5 separate regions of the Homo sapiens genome follow, and regions 2, 3, 4 and 5 are each linked to region 1. Evidence: promoter capture Hi-C in 16 types of primary human blood cells and fetal thymus (Javierre and others, 2016). All regions are on one chromosome and are shown on one strand. The core of a region is centred on a gene start or on the middle of the fragment in contact, and the rest is flanking DNA. Distances in the headings are between cores, read along the strand shown.

The links. The method cuts DNA at HindIII sites, captures the fragments that hold promoters and counts their contacts. A CHiCAGO score of 5 or more calls a contact.
Region 2: a contact is called between a fragment that was not itself captured here and the fragment with the promoter of SHH in region 1, in 13 of 17 cell types (M1 macrophages, megakaryocytes, total CD4 T cells and 10 more). The highest score is 9.5, in M1 macrophages.
Region 3: a contact is called between the fragment with the promoter of LMBR1 here and the fragment with the promoter of SHH in region 1, in 1 of 17 cell types (M1 macrophages). The highest score is 5.4, in M1 macrophages.
Region 4: a fragment that was not itself captured here is called in contact with the fragment with the promoter of SHH in region 1 in 1 of 17 cell types (total B cells); the score reaches 5.0 in total B cells.
Region 5: a contact is called between a fragment that was not itself captured here and the fragment with the promoter of SHH in region 1, in 1 of 17 cell types (naive B cells). The highest score is 5.4, in naive B cells.

The regions. Positions count from the first base shown.
Region 1 is chr7:155,811,084-155,813,783 of GRCh38, forward strand. SHH (sonic hedgehog signaling molecule) reads right to left here and starts at 1,380. Exons shown (of 3, transcript NM_000193.4): 1 at 740-1,380. The coding sequence starts at 1,039. The HindIII fragment of the contact is 3,572 bases long and covers 1-1,447 here.
Region 2 is chr7:156,820,800-156,823,499 of GRCh38, forward strand. All of the region lies in intron 4 of LMBR1 (limb development membrane protein 1), which reads right to left. Among named protein-coding and RNA genes, the nearest start is that of LMBR1, 71 kb to the right of the region's middle. RefSeq lists an enhancer at 1-389. The HindIII fragment of the contact is 4,162 bases long and covers 1-2,700 here.
Region 3 is chr7:156,891,733-156,894,432 of GRCh38, forward strand. LMBR1 (limb development membrane protein 1) reads right to left here and starts at 1,451. Exons shown (of 17, transcript NM_022458.4): 1 at 1,196-1,451. The coding sequence starts at 1,261. It overlaps LOC102723795 (a long non-coding RNA gene), which reads left to right and starts at 1,666. Exons shown (of 4, transcript XR_928253.3): 1 at 1,666-1,931. RefSeq lists silencers at 543-1,042, 1,093-1,672. The HindIII fragment of the contact is 17,725 bases long and covers 1-2,700 here.
Region 4 is chr7:156,838,895-156,841,594 of GRCh38, forward strand. All of the region lies in intron 1 of LMBR1 (limb development membrane protein 1), which reads right to left. Among named protein-coding and RNA genes, the nearest start is that of LMBR1, 53 kb to the right of the region's middle. The HindIII fragment of the contact is 5,299 bases long and covers 1-2,700 here.
Region 5 is chr7:157,271,657-157,274,424 of GRCh38, forward strand. No RefSeq gene overlaps it. Among named protein-coding and RNA genes, the nearest start is that of DNAJB6, 64 kb to the right of the region's middle. RefSeq lists enhancers at 159-927, 319-613, 928-1,697. The HindIII fragment of the contact is 5,840 bases long and covers 1-2,768 here.

The sequences.
Region 1 (2,700 bases), core at 130-2,629:
CCCCTAAGGTACCTCGGGCTTGGAAGAACGAAAGAGCATCCTTAAAGAAATATCAATACATTCACACTCTGATGGGCACAATTGCGGACACGCAATCGCAAAGCCAGCTCTGCGATACAGCCAGCCACCCAGGGACGGGCGGAGTCTCCCCTGGAGCCCCTGCCTTTTGTCAGAACCGCCTCCTGGCTTTTCCAGTTGAGAATTCTTTGGTGGGGAGGTGCAGGGTGGGGGTAGTGGTGGGAAAGAAAACCACAGAGGCAACGGGAAACGTGGGGGCTCTGAGCTCCAATGCCCAAGGCTACGTTCGTTCGTTCGTACAGTACCAGGAGACCACTTCATGTTTGTGGGAGGGGGATTCCCAGCCTCTCCTTCCATTTCCACTCCTGACTTGGAAAGGGCCGACGCCCCCAAAGTGAAGGTCTCCCCAAGTTACAAGCCAGGGCAGAGGTAGGATGGGGAAGGCCATTGTAGCAAGACTCATCAAATCAGGGCCATAATGAACCACGTCTGTTACCGTCCTCACCCCCACCACACCCTAAACTTCTCCAGCTGGACCCTTGACCTCCATTCTCCTCCAGGAAGAGGAAGAGATGGGGGGCGGGCAGGTGGGTGGGGAAGGAGCGGGTGAAATCACCTTCCTATCTGCCCGAAGAGCAAACAGAGTTAAGTCTGGAAGTGTTCGGCTTCTCGTAACCCCCTGGAAAGCCACACATTCCACGCCCCGGCGCTGGGTTCCTACCTGAGTCATCAGCCTGTCCGCTCCGGTGTTTTCTTCATCCTTAAATATGATGTCGGGGTTGTAATTGGGGGTGAGTTCCTTAAATCGCTCGGAGTTTCTGGAGATCTTCCCTTCATACCTTCCGCTGGCGCCTAGGGTCTTCTCGGCCACATTGGGGATAAACTGCTTGTAGGCTAAAGGGGTCAGCTTTTTGGGGTGCCTCCTCTTCCCGAACCCCCTGCCCGGTCCGCACGCCAGTCCCGAGCATACCAGCAGCGAGGAGACGAGGACTAGCAGCAGACATCTCGCCAGCAGCAGCATCTCGCCCATGGAACTGATGACTTCCGAGCTGTCCCCGTGCGGGTCCGTGCGCGAGTGCGCGCGGCGGGTGTGTGCGTGTGCGCTCTCTCTTGCGCTTTCCCTTCCTCGCTCCGGCTCGCCCGCTCGCTCTCTCCCTCGCTGGCTGCCTCGCTCTTTCTCTTCCTATATAACCTTGCCCGCCGCGGCTGCGGGGGACTCTCCACCGCTCCCCACCCAGACAGGGGCTGGAATGGCAGGCTGCCGGCCGCTGATAACGGAACACATCGGAGTTGGGTCGCGAGACAGCAATCAAAAGACAAAAAGAGTCTGATTTTAAATGGTAGCAAGCCTGGAGAGCTTGTGAGAGAGGCTGCCTTTAGCACTATATTATAGCTGCCAGGGGCGCATCTGATTGGCCAAAGCCGCACAAGCTTGTCTTCTGATGTTAACCCTGAAGAAGACTACGTTTTTTTTTTCTGTTGCTGCTGTTGCTTTATTTTCACCTGAAGGATTCGAGTTAAAAAAAAAAAAATCTTTCCTAAGATAAAGGTGGGCGGGAGGGAGGAGCGCATGTCTTGTGGTAACAGCAGTTACTCCCGGCTTTGTGTACATCCTTGCGTTTCCCCCTGACTTTCCCTGGAATGGTAGGTGCTTCAGTTAAAACCAACTTAAGTTTTTAAAGGACAGTTTAAACCCCCGCAAGCTTCAGTCATCAAGCACAGAGTCGCTCACACATTTGAGGGGCACAGCTGCCCAGCTGTTATTTAATTTTTCTTCCCCAGGGACTTTATAGTGCAGGCTGGCTCTCCCTGCATTTTGAAGAAAGAGGACTGAGCCCCTCCTGAAGACTCAGCCTCTGTGGACCGAGGATAATTATGAGTGACCATAACTTAAAGCACTGGTATTTGAAATGCTTTAAGTGCCTTAGAAAAATGTAAAAATACTGCTCTTTTATTGTGCTTCAATTAATACATTTTTTTTTTTGTAGAGCTCTGCAAATGGGATGGAGGCGTGCTCAAGGGCAGTTACAGAGTGAACTGCGGGCGTCAGGGTGGATGGGCAAAGCAGGTCTGGGGGCTGCACCCCAGCACAGGGGAGAGAGTGGGGGCCAGTGTGTGCGCTGGGTGTGTGGAGGCCATTGCAGGGTGTTGGGGGGGGGGCAGGCGAGTGGGCGAAGCTGTGCTCACACAACCCCCACGATCGATCAGAGCAAAGTGCAGAGCCAGGGGTGAGCTGAATGTGGAATTCAGGCTCCTTGCAAAGCTGGCCTTGTGTGGGGGCTCAGCAGGCCAGCAGTCTTCAGGCACAGGAGCCACCAGTCCTAGGGGCTGCAGCCCAAGGGGTCAGGGGCCCTGGGGGAACAGTGTTCTGGTTAACGAGGGGCTTCCTAGAAAGAGGGCACAGTGCCCAGGAGGTGGCAATCTTTGAGTCTATAATCACCTCACTTTTTGCAGAAAAAGGAAAAAAACTCAAAAGTCCTAAGTAAACCAGGAAAATAAAATTTGAAGCTCCCTCTCAACCCTGCTTTTCTTTTTTTTTTTAAAAAAAAAAAAACAGATCATGCCCTTCCCCTTCTCAATCGCCATCCCACTCATGTGCAATGATTCCTCTAGCATAGGATTAGAGAGTGAGGGTTATTTACGTGGAGGGGAAATCCTGACCCTGAGGAGTCATCAGATGCT
Region 2 (2,700 bases), core at 173-2,672, 1.0 Mb after region 1:
AAGGCTCTGCGGCAGCTCCAGGCTCTGTGCAGGCTGCTCTGCCTCCTGGGCCACATGACCCAGCAGATCCAAGGGTGTCTGAAAGGGCAGAGGCAGAGACGCATGCTGTGTGGAGCCTTTGGCAGGTTCCTCTCAAGGTGAACTGCAGCACAGGCCCTTAGGATGTTGGGGCAACGCCCTGCCATCCTTGTGGGTAACAACTGCCTTTGAGAAACAGCTCTTGACCCACTATGGGGCTTTAGTAGGGATTGAATGCTGAAACATGGACCACCAAGTTACCATGGGACCTGAGTTGCCCATCATGAACTGAATGTTTTCCGACCCACCAAGCCAGAAAGTTGGGTGTGCACAGCAGCATTCCATCATCAAATGGAAGTGGTACATGTCTGGGCCTAAGTAGGCCCTAAAGGCACAAGTTACATAAAGAAGTGCCGCCAATGCCGACGGTCCCCACTCCCGCTACGCTGCCTTCTCTCTCCCAGCCTGCACCTACAGTCTCCTGGAGAGTTCCCTAAAATCAGCTGACGGAGGAAGACCTGGGCCTGGTTTACAGATGGTTCTGCATGATATGCAGGCCCCCACGTTAGTGGACAACTGCAGCACTACTGCCCCTTTCTGGAACATCCCTAAAAGGACAGCGGTGAAGGGAAACTCTCCGATGGGCAGATCTATGGGCTGTACATCTGGTGGTTTGCTTTGCTTGGAAAGAGAAATAGCCAAATGTGTGATTATTACATATTAATGGACCATGGCCAATGGTTTGGCCAGATGCTCAGAGTCTTGAAGAAACACAATTGGAAAACTGGAAATAAGAAAATTGGGATGAGGTACATGAACAGACCTCTTTGAATGGGAAAAAAATGTGAAAGTATTTGTGTCCCATGTGAATGCTCACCAAAGGGTGACCTCAGCAGAGGAAGATTTTAATAATTAAGTGGATAGGCTGACTGGCTCTGTGGATACTAGTCAGCCTCCTTCCCCAGCCACCCCTGTCATTGCCCAATGGGCTCAGGAACAAAGTCACCATGATGGTAGGGACGGAGATCATACATGGACCCAGCACCTTCTACTCACCAAGGCTGGCCTGGCTACAGCCACTGCTAAGGACCCAATCTGCTAACTGTGACTTTTGTTTTCCAAATCTCCCCACCAAATATTTATTTATTTAAACACACACGAACATGTTTATACACATACATTTCCCTAACACAGACAAAACAATTAAAAGACAAATTTCCATAGCATTGTAATGTCCCATATTGCACAAAATACATGCCTTTGCTTACGAAAACCTTCATAAAATGTATGAACTTTTTAAAACCTAGTAGGAGCAAAGTATTACAAAACTACAGTCTTTAAAACAATATGGCACTGGCATAGGAATAGACAGACAAACCAGAGGGAAAAAACAGAAAGTAAAACTCAGCATTTATTTCCTGCTTACTCTTGGCCACCAGGCAATAGACTAGGTACTTTATACTATACATATATTCCACTTACTACATATAATAATTCTATAAACTAGACCTTGATATGGTCATTTTATAGATAAAAGACTGAGACTCTGAAAGCGTAAACAATATGCTCAAGGTTGCTAAGGGTTTCAGACAGATTTGAAATTCAAGCCCAGGTCTATCTGACTCCAAAACCTGCATACCTGAGCCCAGAAACAAACGCTAATATAATATTTAGCTTACTGAAAATGAAGCATAAAAAATCAGTACAGAAAAGAATATTCAATTAATGGTATTGGGACAACTAGCTGTCATATCTCAGGGTGGGAAACAATCTTCTAAACACAAAAACAATTAGAGACACCAAGAGAAAAAGAAAAACCAAATATTATAAAAAATATTCAAATTCTGGAAAAAAGCAATTAATATTAAAAAGCAAAATAACAATCAGAAAAACATGTAAAAAATTGAAATGAAAAGCTGATGTGTTCAAACAAAGAGATCATAAATTCAATATGAAAAAAGCAACAACCACAAAAAAGGGCAAAGGACATTAATCAAATAAAATATACATGGGCTGGGCACGGTGGCTCATGCCTGTAATCCCAGCATTTCAGAGGCCGAAGAGGGTGGATCACTTGAGGTCAGGAGTTTGAGGCCAGCCTGGCCAACATGGTGAAACCCCCTGTCTCTACTAAAAATATAAAAATGATCTGGGCGTGGTGGCACACACCTGTAGTCCCCGCTCCTCAGGAAGCTGAGGCAGGAGAATCGCTTGAACCCGGGAGGTAGAGGTTGCAGTGAGCCAAGACTGCGCCACTGCACTCCAGCCTGGGCAACAGAGCAACACTTCATCTCAAAAAAATTATAATAATAAAATAAATAAATAAAAATAAAATGATATATGTATTAGATATTTTTCTATATTTTATAAATTAAAATTAAAATGTCCTATCTGACTAAAAATTTTTTAAATTAACATTACAATAATGAGAAACTACCTTCTACCCATGAAAATGGAAAAGATTTTAAAGATACTAATATTCACTGTTATTAAGTTTATGGCTAAAAACAAGAGGCACCTTCATGGTCTATCAAGAGAATATAAACAAGTAATTCTAGAAAACAGTTTAGCAATTAATACTCATTAGCCTAATAATTTTCATTCTAATTTCCATGTAAAGAAATTGTCAGAAACCCAAATAATAATGAAAATTTAAAAATCCTCTAGATGCTCAACAACAGT
Region 3 (2,700 bases), core at 201-2,700, 1.1 Mb after region 1:
GTACATGTATGATTACATGAACTTATCTCTGTGTATTTTAGCTTCAATTATAAAAATTACAACTAAATGTGTACCAAATTCCACTAACTCAAATTCCACCAGCTCAGACTTTATATGTCCTCTTTATTCAAAGTATGACTTCCAAAGTGATTCTCAATTTTCAAGATCAGTGAGTACACAAATTAGATAATTCTAAAGCAGAATTTTTTCACCTCAAACCAAGTGTGACTGAATCGTAGACAACTTAGGAGAGGCGTAAATATAAACATAAAAAATTGACATATTTTACAACAGTTATGAAAACACAGATAAACCCAATTACAATACATTCTAGAGCATCATGAAAAGATAAAAACATCAAAGTAGACTTTCCAAGGTCAAGTCCGCTTCCTGACTCCTGCCAACAGCACACATGGAACATGGGCCAAAAAAGAAGCTGCTTCCCTAAGAAGTTGCTTCCATAGCAAAATGGACTTTTGCTGAGGTCCTCACTCCCAAAAATAACCAATATTCTCATCCCAAACGGTAAGGTTTCGAACTCAACCCACGTGGGGGCTGGGGGAGATGAAAGAGGGATGGAAACGTGAGGCGCCAGGAGGGCAGGAGGTGTTGACCGGGACAAGGTAACCGGCCGGGTCCAAACGCGAGAGGCGGGCGGGCTCCGCGCAGCCCGGCCCTTCCCGGACCCGCCGGGCCCACCCAGGCTCTCCGGGACGCCTGCGCATCCACCTGCCTACCTGGCCTGGCGGCGGAGCGCGGGGGCGCGCACTGGCGGGGCCGCCGTCCACACCCCGAGGCGCGAGCCGCACACCCGCCCAGAGAGGAAGCCCCTGGGGTCCCAGAGCGCGGCGCGCACCGCAGCCCTCCCCGCGGGAAGGGAAGGGCAGCACCGAGGCCGCGGGGCGGGGGCGGGGTCGGGGCTCGAACGGAGGGAGCGCGAGGGGGCAGGGGAGGCAAGAGCGGAGCGGGGGGGCAGGCAGAGGAAGCGAAGGGGAGGGGAGGGGAGAGGAGAGGTGGGGAGGGAAGGGGAGGGGAGGGGAGAGGAGGGGTGGGGAGGGAGAGCGGCAGAGGCCGGGGCGGGAGGCGCGAGGCGAGGCCCGGAGGTGAGGGGTCCGGGGACCGGGGGCCCGGGGGCGGGGACGGAGGGCCCGGGCGGGCACGCGGGACTGTCAGGGCTGCCTCGGTCCCCACGCACCGTGGACTCCCGCACTTGGCTGTGGAAGTGCTGCTCCCGCGCCGACACCTCGTCCTGCCCTTCCATCCTCCTTCATGCCCGCCGCCGCGCCGCCCGCGTCCGCGTGCTCCGCCACACCATCGTCCGCCCGCCGCAGGGGCTCGGACAGCCGCGCCGGGGACCGGAGCCGGCACGGGCCCGCGAGCCGTGTTGGAACAGGTACCGCGACCACGACACCGGCCGTCGCCTCAGCAGCCTCAGACGAGCAGCTCTGACTAAGGGAGGGCGGGCGCCGCGCAGTCGGGGGCGGGGCGGGGGCGGGGCAGGGAGGGGAGGGGGCGGTGCAGGCATACGTCAGACGAAAGGCGCCGATGCGTCAGAAAAGCGCGCCTCGCGGTCTTCCGAGCTGCTGGGCCGGGAGGCGCTGAGGGGGCGGGGCCTTGAGGTCGCGGGGCGGGGCTCCGCCCACGCTCTCAGGGGCTACCCCAGTTAAGGAGGCGCTGTCCTGGCGTCGGATGGGGACGGGGAACGCGGCGAGGGCGCTGCGACCTCTGCCCACCTGGCCCGGCCGCAGTCTCGGAGTTCCTGTTCCTCACAGGAGCTAATTATTTATGACAGCTGCATGGTTCCCCTCCCCCAGTTACTCAGTGCTTGGCACTCGGCACCCCTTACTCAGCACTCAGTACCGCACTCGGCCTCAGGGGACCTGGGCAGAGGGAAGCAGGGAGTCTCCCGCGGAAACTCTTGCTCTGCCAAAGTAGGTTGAAAGGTCGGAAATCGGTGGTTTGGGGCCGGGCTTTGGGCGGAAACCCAGCTTCTCTGGGTCTGAGAAGGGTCTTGGGCTGCCCCACCTGGAAAACGCAGATAACCGAGCTCGCTAGACCCTTGCCAAGTCCTTCCGGTAGCTCGGTCACTAGGGTCAGTTTTATGACTCTCAGTGGACCCTAAACAGCACGTAATATATGTATTTTTCACCGCCAAATATATCAAACACAATAATTCACCCTCCGTTCCCTATTATCTTTCTTTTTGTTATAAAATTTGAATTTAAGGGAATGTTTATAATTTTACCTTAGGATTTATTTGGCTACGAGGAAGTCATTTAAATTGCTAGTGGCTGCGATTTTTGTTTTTGGCATCTTTGAGAATTCTTAGGAAGTGTGAAAATCTACAAATTGCTTTCAAATGTCATTTAGTTTTTGTTTTTGTTTTTTTTTTTTTTGAGACAGAGTTTCACTCTTGTCGCCCAGGCTGGAGTGCAATGGCGATCTCTGCTCACAACAACCTCTGCCTCTTGGGTTCAAGTGATTCTCCTGCCTCAGCCTCCCGAGTAGCTGGGATTACAGGCGCCCGCCACCACGCCCAGCTAATTTTTGTATTTTTAGTAGAGACGGGGTTTCACCACGTTGGCCAAGCTGTTCTTGAACTCCTGACCTCAGGTGATCCGCCCACCTCGTCCTCCCAAAGTGCTGGGATTACAGGCCTGAGCCACCGCGCCCGGCCGTTGTTTAGATTTTTATGAATCT
Region 4 (2,700 bases), core at 80-2,579, 1.0 Mb after region 1:
TTTGATTACAGCCACCCTAACAGATGTGAGGTGATAGGTCATGGTGGTTTTGACTTATATGTCCCTGATGATTAGTGATGTTGAACACATTTTCATATACCTATTGGCCATCTGTATGTCTTCTTTTGAGAAATATCTATTCTAGTCCTTTGCTTTTTTTTTTTTTTTTTTTTGGACAGAGTTTCACTCTTGTTGTTCAGACTGGAGTGCAATGGCGCGATCTTGGCTCATTGCAACCTCCACCTCCCAGGTTCAAGTGATTCTCCTGCCTCAGCCTCCCAAGTGGCTGGGACTACAGGCTCACACCACCACACCTGGCTAATTTTGTATTTTTAGTAGAGACGGGGTTTCACCATGTTGGTCAGGCTGGTCTCGAACTCCTGACCACAGGTGATCCACCTGTGTCAGCCTCCTAAAGTGCTGGGATTACAGGTGTGAGCCACTGTGCCCAGCCGCCCATTTTTTAATCAGGTTAATTGTTTAATTTCAATTGAATTTCTATCAGATCTGGGGAATGCCAGACCGACAAAAAAGGATGGGTCAACAGGAGATCTCGTTACAGTCAAAGACTGTGTGCTAGAAATAAAGGTTTGCCACAGCTTGTTGTGGAACATGGAAAAAAAAATTGAAGACTCTCAAATGAAACCATTCTGAGTGATGATGAAGTCTAGAGAATATCCCTTGTGTGTATTTCTGAAGAAGTACTGGTGGCCATATGACTGAGAACAACTTTGGACCAGGATAGTGGACATTCCCTGCACATCATCATGTAGGAATGACAAACGGAGAATGAAGAAGACTACTAGCTGTGTGCCAAAGCTCTCCCAATACACAAGGGAGAGAAACAGAAGACAGTACTGACAGCAACCAAAAGGACCAAAGGGCATCAAAGATTCCCTGCCACTGGAAGCCACGTACCTGTTGGGAACACTGGCTAGACAAGAAAATGTCAACAGCATCGCTACCTTCTCCCAAAATTATCTGGAGTGTAGAAGATGGGCCAAAGAGGAAAACCAGCTCTTGGAGAAGAAATGTAAATGGAGAGGTCTTCTAAGAAGTTGAGAATAAGGGGAAATTGTTTACAATGGAATGAAGTCTGAGTAAGGCTACAAGAGCAATGGAGAGAAGACAGAAACACAGTGAATCATGAGGTTAAAGTCAGAGAGATTCGATGACCAAGGGAATTAATATTTAGGACAGAGGCTGATTTAAATTCATTCACATTTTATTCATTCAAATAAAAACAATTTTTACTGTGGGCTTGCTATATACCAGGCACTCTTCTAGGAACTGGGACATAGCAGTGAACAAAGTTATAGCCCTCATGGAGCTTACAGTACACTGCGAGAAAAAGACAATAAATAAATATAAAGTGTGTCGTATGATAATTATGCAACGTTAGAGGAACAGGAAGTGCCAGCAGGGGTGGGGGCATGTCTCACTAATAAGGTGACATCTGAGGAAAGAGTTGTGGGACAAGAAGGGCCAAGACATGCAGAAATCTAGAGGAACGGGGGAGGATTTGAGGCAGAGAGAACAGTAGTGCCAAGGGTCGGAGGCAATAATGGCTCTGGTGTGCTCAAACAATGAGTGGGCAGAAGTAAGAGACAAGGTCAGAAAATAATGGGAGCCCACTATTCGGGTCACGCAAGACTCAGGTACTGTGTGTCGGTTTTTACCCTGAGTGAGACAGAATTCCACTGTAGGATTCTGAGTAGAGGGTGATAGGATCTGACACAGTGCAAAAGGCTCACTATAAGTGCTATGCAGAAAATAAACTGGAGGCCGGGCGCGGTGGCTCACTCCTGTAATCCCAGCACTTTGGGAGGCCGAGGCGGGTGGATCACGAGGTCAGGAGATCGAGACCATCCTGACTAACATGGTGAAACCCCGTCTCTACTAAAAATACAAAAAAAAAAAATTAGCCGGGCGTCGTGGCGGGCGTCTGTAGTCCTAGCTACTCGGGGGGCTGAGGCAGGAGAATGGCGTGAACCTGGGAGGCAGAGGTTGCAATGAGCCGAGATCGTGCCACTGCACTCCAGCCTGGGCGACTGAGCAAGACTCGGTCTCAAAAAAAAAAAAAAAAAAAAGAAAAAGAAAAGAAACTGGAAAAGGGCCAGGACAGAGGCAAGGAGAGCAGGCAACAAAGAACTGCAGGAAGCCGAGAGCAGCCACTCGGACCTGTGCAAGGAGGTGCTCAGAAGACATGGAATTCTGGGCACGTTTTGAAAGCAGACATGATAAGATTTGCTAGAATAAATATAAGGTTCTTTGCCTGAGAAACTGGAAAGACAGAGTTGCCATTTCAGGACTCAGGAAAGATTAGAAGAGGAGTAGTTTTGAGGGAGAAATAAGTATAGCTTAACACTGTTGAATCTGACATACATATAATTCACTCAGGTCAAGAGGCTGGATGGGCAGTTGGATAAAAATCTGTACCATTCAGAAGAAAGGGCCAGGCCATAAATTTTTTAAAACCTTAGAATCATCTGCAGATGATATTTAAAGTCCTGAGACTAGACGAGATTTCCATCCCAGGGAGTAAGTATAGCCAGAGAAGAGAAGTCTGAGAATAGAGACCTAGAGCTCTCAAATATTTAGAAATCAGCTTGGCAGAAGGATTCACAAAAGCTGACTGAGAAGCAGCAGTCAGCAAGGGAGGAGGCAAACCAAGAGACTAGATGTCTTGAAAGCCACATG
Region 5 (2,768 bases), core at 77-2,576, 1.5 Mb after region 1:
TGAGGTGATGACTGAATGGATGCTGTCGTGCTTGCATCCACAGACTTGACAGGACCAGAGCTGTTAGAGCTCATTCAAGTGTGAGGGGGGTAGTCTTTCTTAAAATGGTATCGTGTTCATGGTCATCAGCTCCCTGTGGCTGCTGTAGCAAATTACCACAAATCAGGTGGCTTAAAGCAGCAGCATTTCTCTCCTCCAGGGATCAGGAGGCCTCACAGCCTCAGGGAGGAACCCTTTGTCTCCTCCAGCTTCTGGTATCTGGTGTCTTCTCCCCCTGTCTCCAGTGTCCTGCCTTTTTCCTATAGACACCCCTGTAATCCAGGATGACTTCATCTCAAGATCCTCAATTACATCTGCAAAGACTTTTTCCAAATAAGGCCATGTATGTACACATGTCCTGGAGTCAGGACGTGGCCTGTTTCTTTGGGCAGCCCCATTCTGGCTGTGTTGATTTAAGTGTGGTAGGTAGACCCGTGGGGATTTCGAAACGTGTTCTGGTTGTACTTGGCTGTTGCCCACGCAGACGCAAACAAGCCTTTCCTTTGACTCAGTAAAACGAGCGGTGCATGAGATCAGTGTTCCCGGCCCTTCCTGAAGGCCATTGTGTCTCTAGGGGTTGGGGCTTAGCAGTCTGTATTTTTTATAGTGTCCTGGATAATCCTTCACAGGTGATTTCTGGAAAACAATTAGACAGTCTCAAAAAATCCTTTCAATGTTAAAAACTTCTAGGTTGGGAGTTGCAGGGCATTCCAGCTGATTTGCCTGGAGTTCATTTCTGGTGCTCCAGGGAGTCCTGATACCCGCAGCACCTGGGCCGGAACCTCCAGCTGTACGTGCCATCCAGGCTCCATGGAGGATGGTCTGTGGCACAGCTGCCGACTGCTCGGCTGTGGCCTGGCCCACAGCCCTTCGAGCCTCTACGTTTGCTTTTGCCCAGTCGGGGGTCAGGGAAGATGAGGCTGGTGCTGGGAGCTCCTATCTGAACCGTAAAACTGGTGTCAAGAGATCTTCAGCTCAGTATTTTGAACATAAAATAAGGCCCTCAGTTATAAGCTAATGATGGGTTCTAGAGGCTAATTGCAGCCCGGAGCCAGACGTGAGACTCCAGTCCGGACTGCGTTCTATGTTCCCGACACGCGGGCTGTCCCTAGGCACCTGGCCCTCCTCAGGTCAGCCTGGCCTTCTCCCACTCAACACCTACCACTGCATCACAGACCCTCCCAACAACACCTGAGGCCTTCCTGCCGCTTTCTCTGCCCCTCCCTGTCCCAAGCCATTGGCTTAGAATTGCAGCAAAGTGTCCTCCGTCCTCAGTTCCTGCCCACTGCCAAAGTGACCCTGACCTCAAGTCAGTTCATGACACTCTGGGCAAGACCTTCCAGTGTGTCCCCAGCTCAGGGAGAGCTGAGACCCTGTCATTCGCCCCTGGTGCCATCAGACCGCGCCCCTCCCCGGCTTGGGGCCCTGGGATGTGTGCTGTGCTGTGGCGCATGGCTGATCTCGTGTTGTACAGCAGTTTATTGCCCAGTGCCACCTCCCCTGCCACACCCTATTTAAAACACAGCCCCCCTGACCTCAGCACATCCATCCTCTCTTATTGGTATCTTTCTCTAGAGTGCTGATTTTCATCTAATACACCATGTACTTCACTCACCTATTACTTCCTTTCTCCCCCACCATGTAAGTTTCATGGAGGGTGGGAGGTTAGTAAACTGCTGTTTACCAAGCATGTAGAATAACGCCTTGCACACAGCAGATGCTCAGTAAATACTGGTTGAGTGCATGGATTTGCTACATCTATGGAGAACAGTCTTGCTAACTAAGGTAAATTTCAAGTTAGCCCCTGTATGGTTCCTACCCTCAATTCTTGGACCCCCATTTTTCTCACGAGAGCCTCCCTGCGGCTGCCAGCCGGCCCTAGCTCAGGGTAGGAGTGGGCGCCCGGTGCAGGCCGCCCAGGCACCGCCTTTCTGGTGGTCCCACTGCGGGCAGCTGCCCACGTGTCCAGCAAGTGCCTGCCTGGCCTGCTCCAGACCCCGGGTCGGCTTCGTGGTCCTGGGCAGTGCGTGGGCTCCATCTGGTGGTCAGGAGTGGGCACTGCGTGTGGAAGGGCGCCCGGCGCTCTGGAAGGTGATCTTCACCCGGGTGCCTGCCCCCGCAACCAGAGTCAGCAGGCTTGCACTGCTTGTGTCTCCTCATCAGGAAGTGGCTAATAAAATAGCAATATAAAGCTGACCTTTTAAGAGAAATGTTAAAGTTTTTGAGATGGAGTTTCCCTCTTGTTGCCCAGGCTGGAGTGCGGTGGTGCAATCTTGGATCACTGCAACCTCTGCTTCCTGGGTTCAAGCAATTCTCCTGCCTCAGCCTCCCACATAGCTGGGATTACAGGCACCCGCCACCACGCCCAGCTAATTTTGTATTTTTAATAGAGACAGGATTTTGCCATGTTGGCCAGGGTGGTCCCAAACTCCTGACCTCAGGCGATCCGCCCACCTTGGCCTCCCGAAGTGCTGGGATTACAGGCGTGAGCCACTGTGCCCAGCAGAAATGTTAAAGTTTAACATCCCATTGCCTTAGTTCCTCAAATGTTACACACACAGCAGCAAGCCAGCAGTTTCTACTAGGTTTACAGTAGAGAAGGGAAACCTGGCCAGGCACCCGAGCTCATGTCTGTAATCCCAGCACTTTGGGAGGCCAAGGCAGGTGGATCGCTTGAGGCCAGGAGTTTGAGACCAGCCTGGGCAACATGGCAAAACCCCATCTCTACA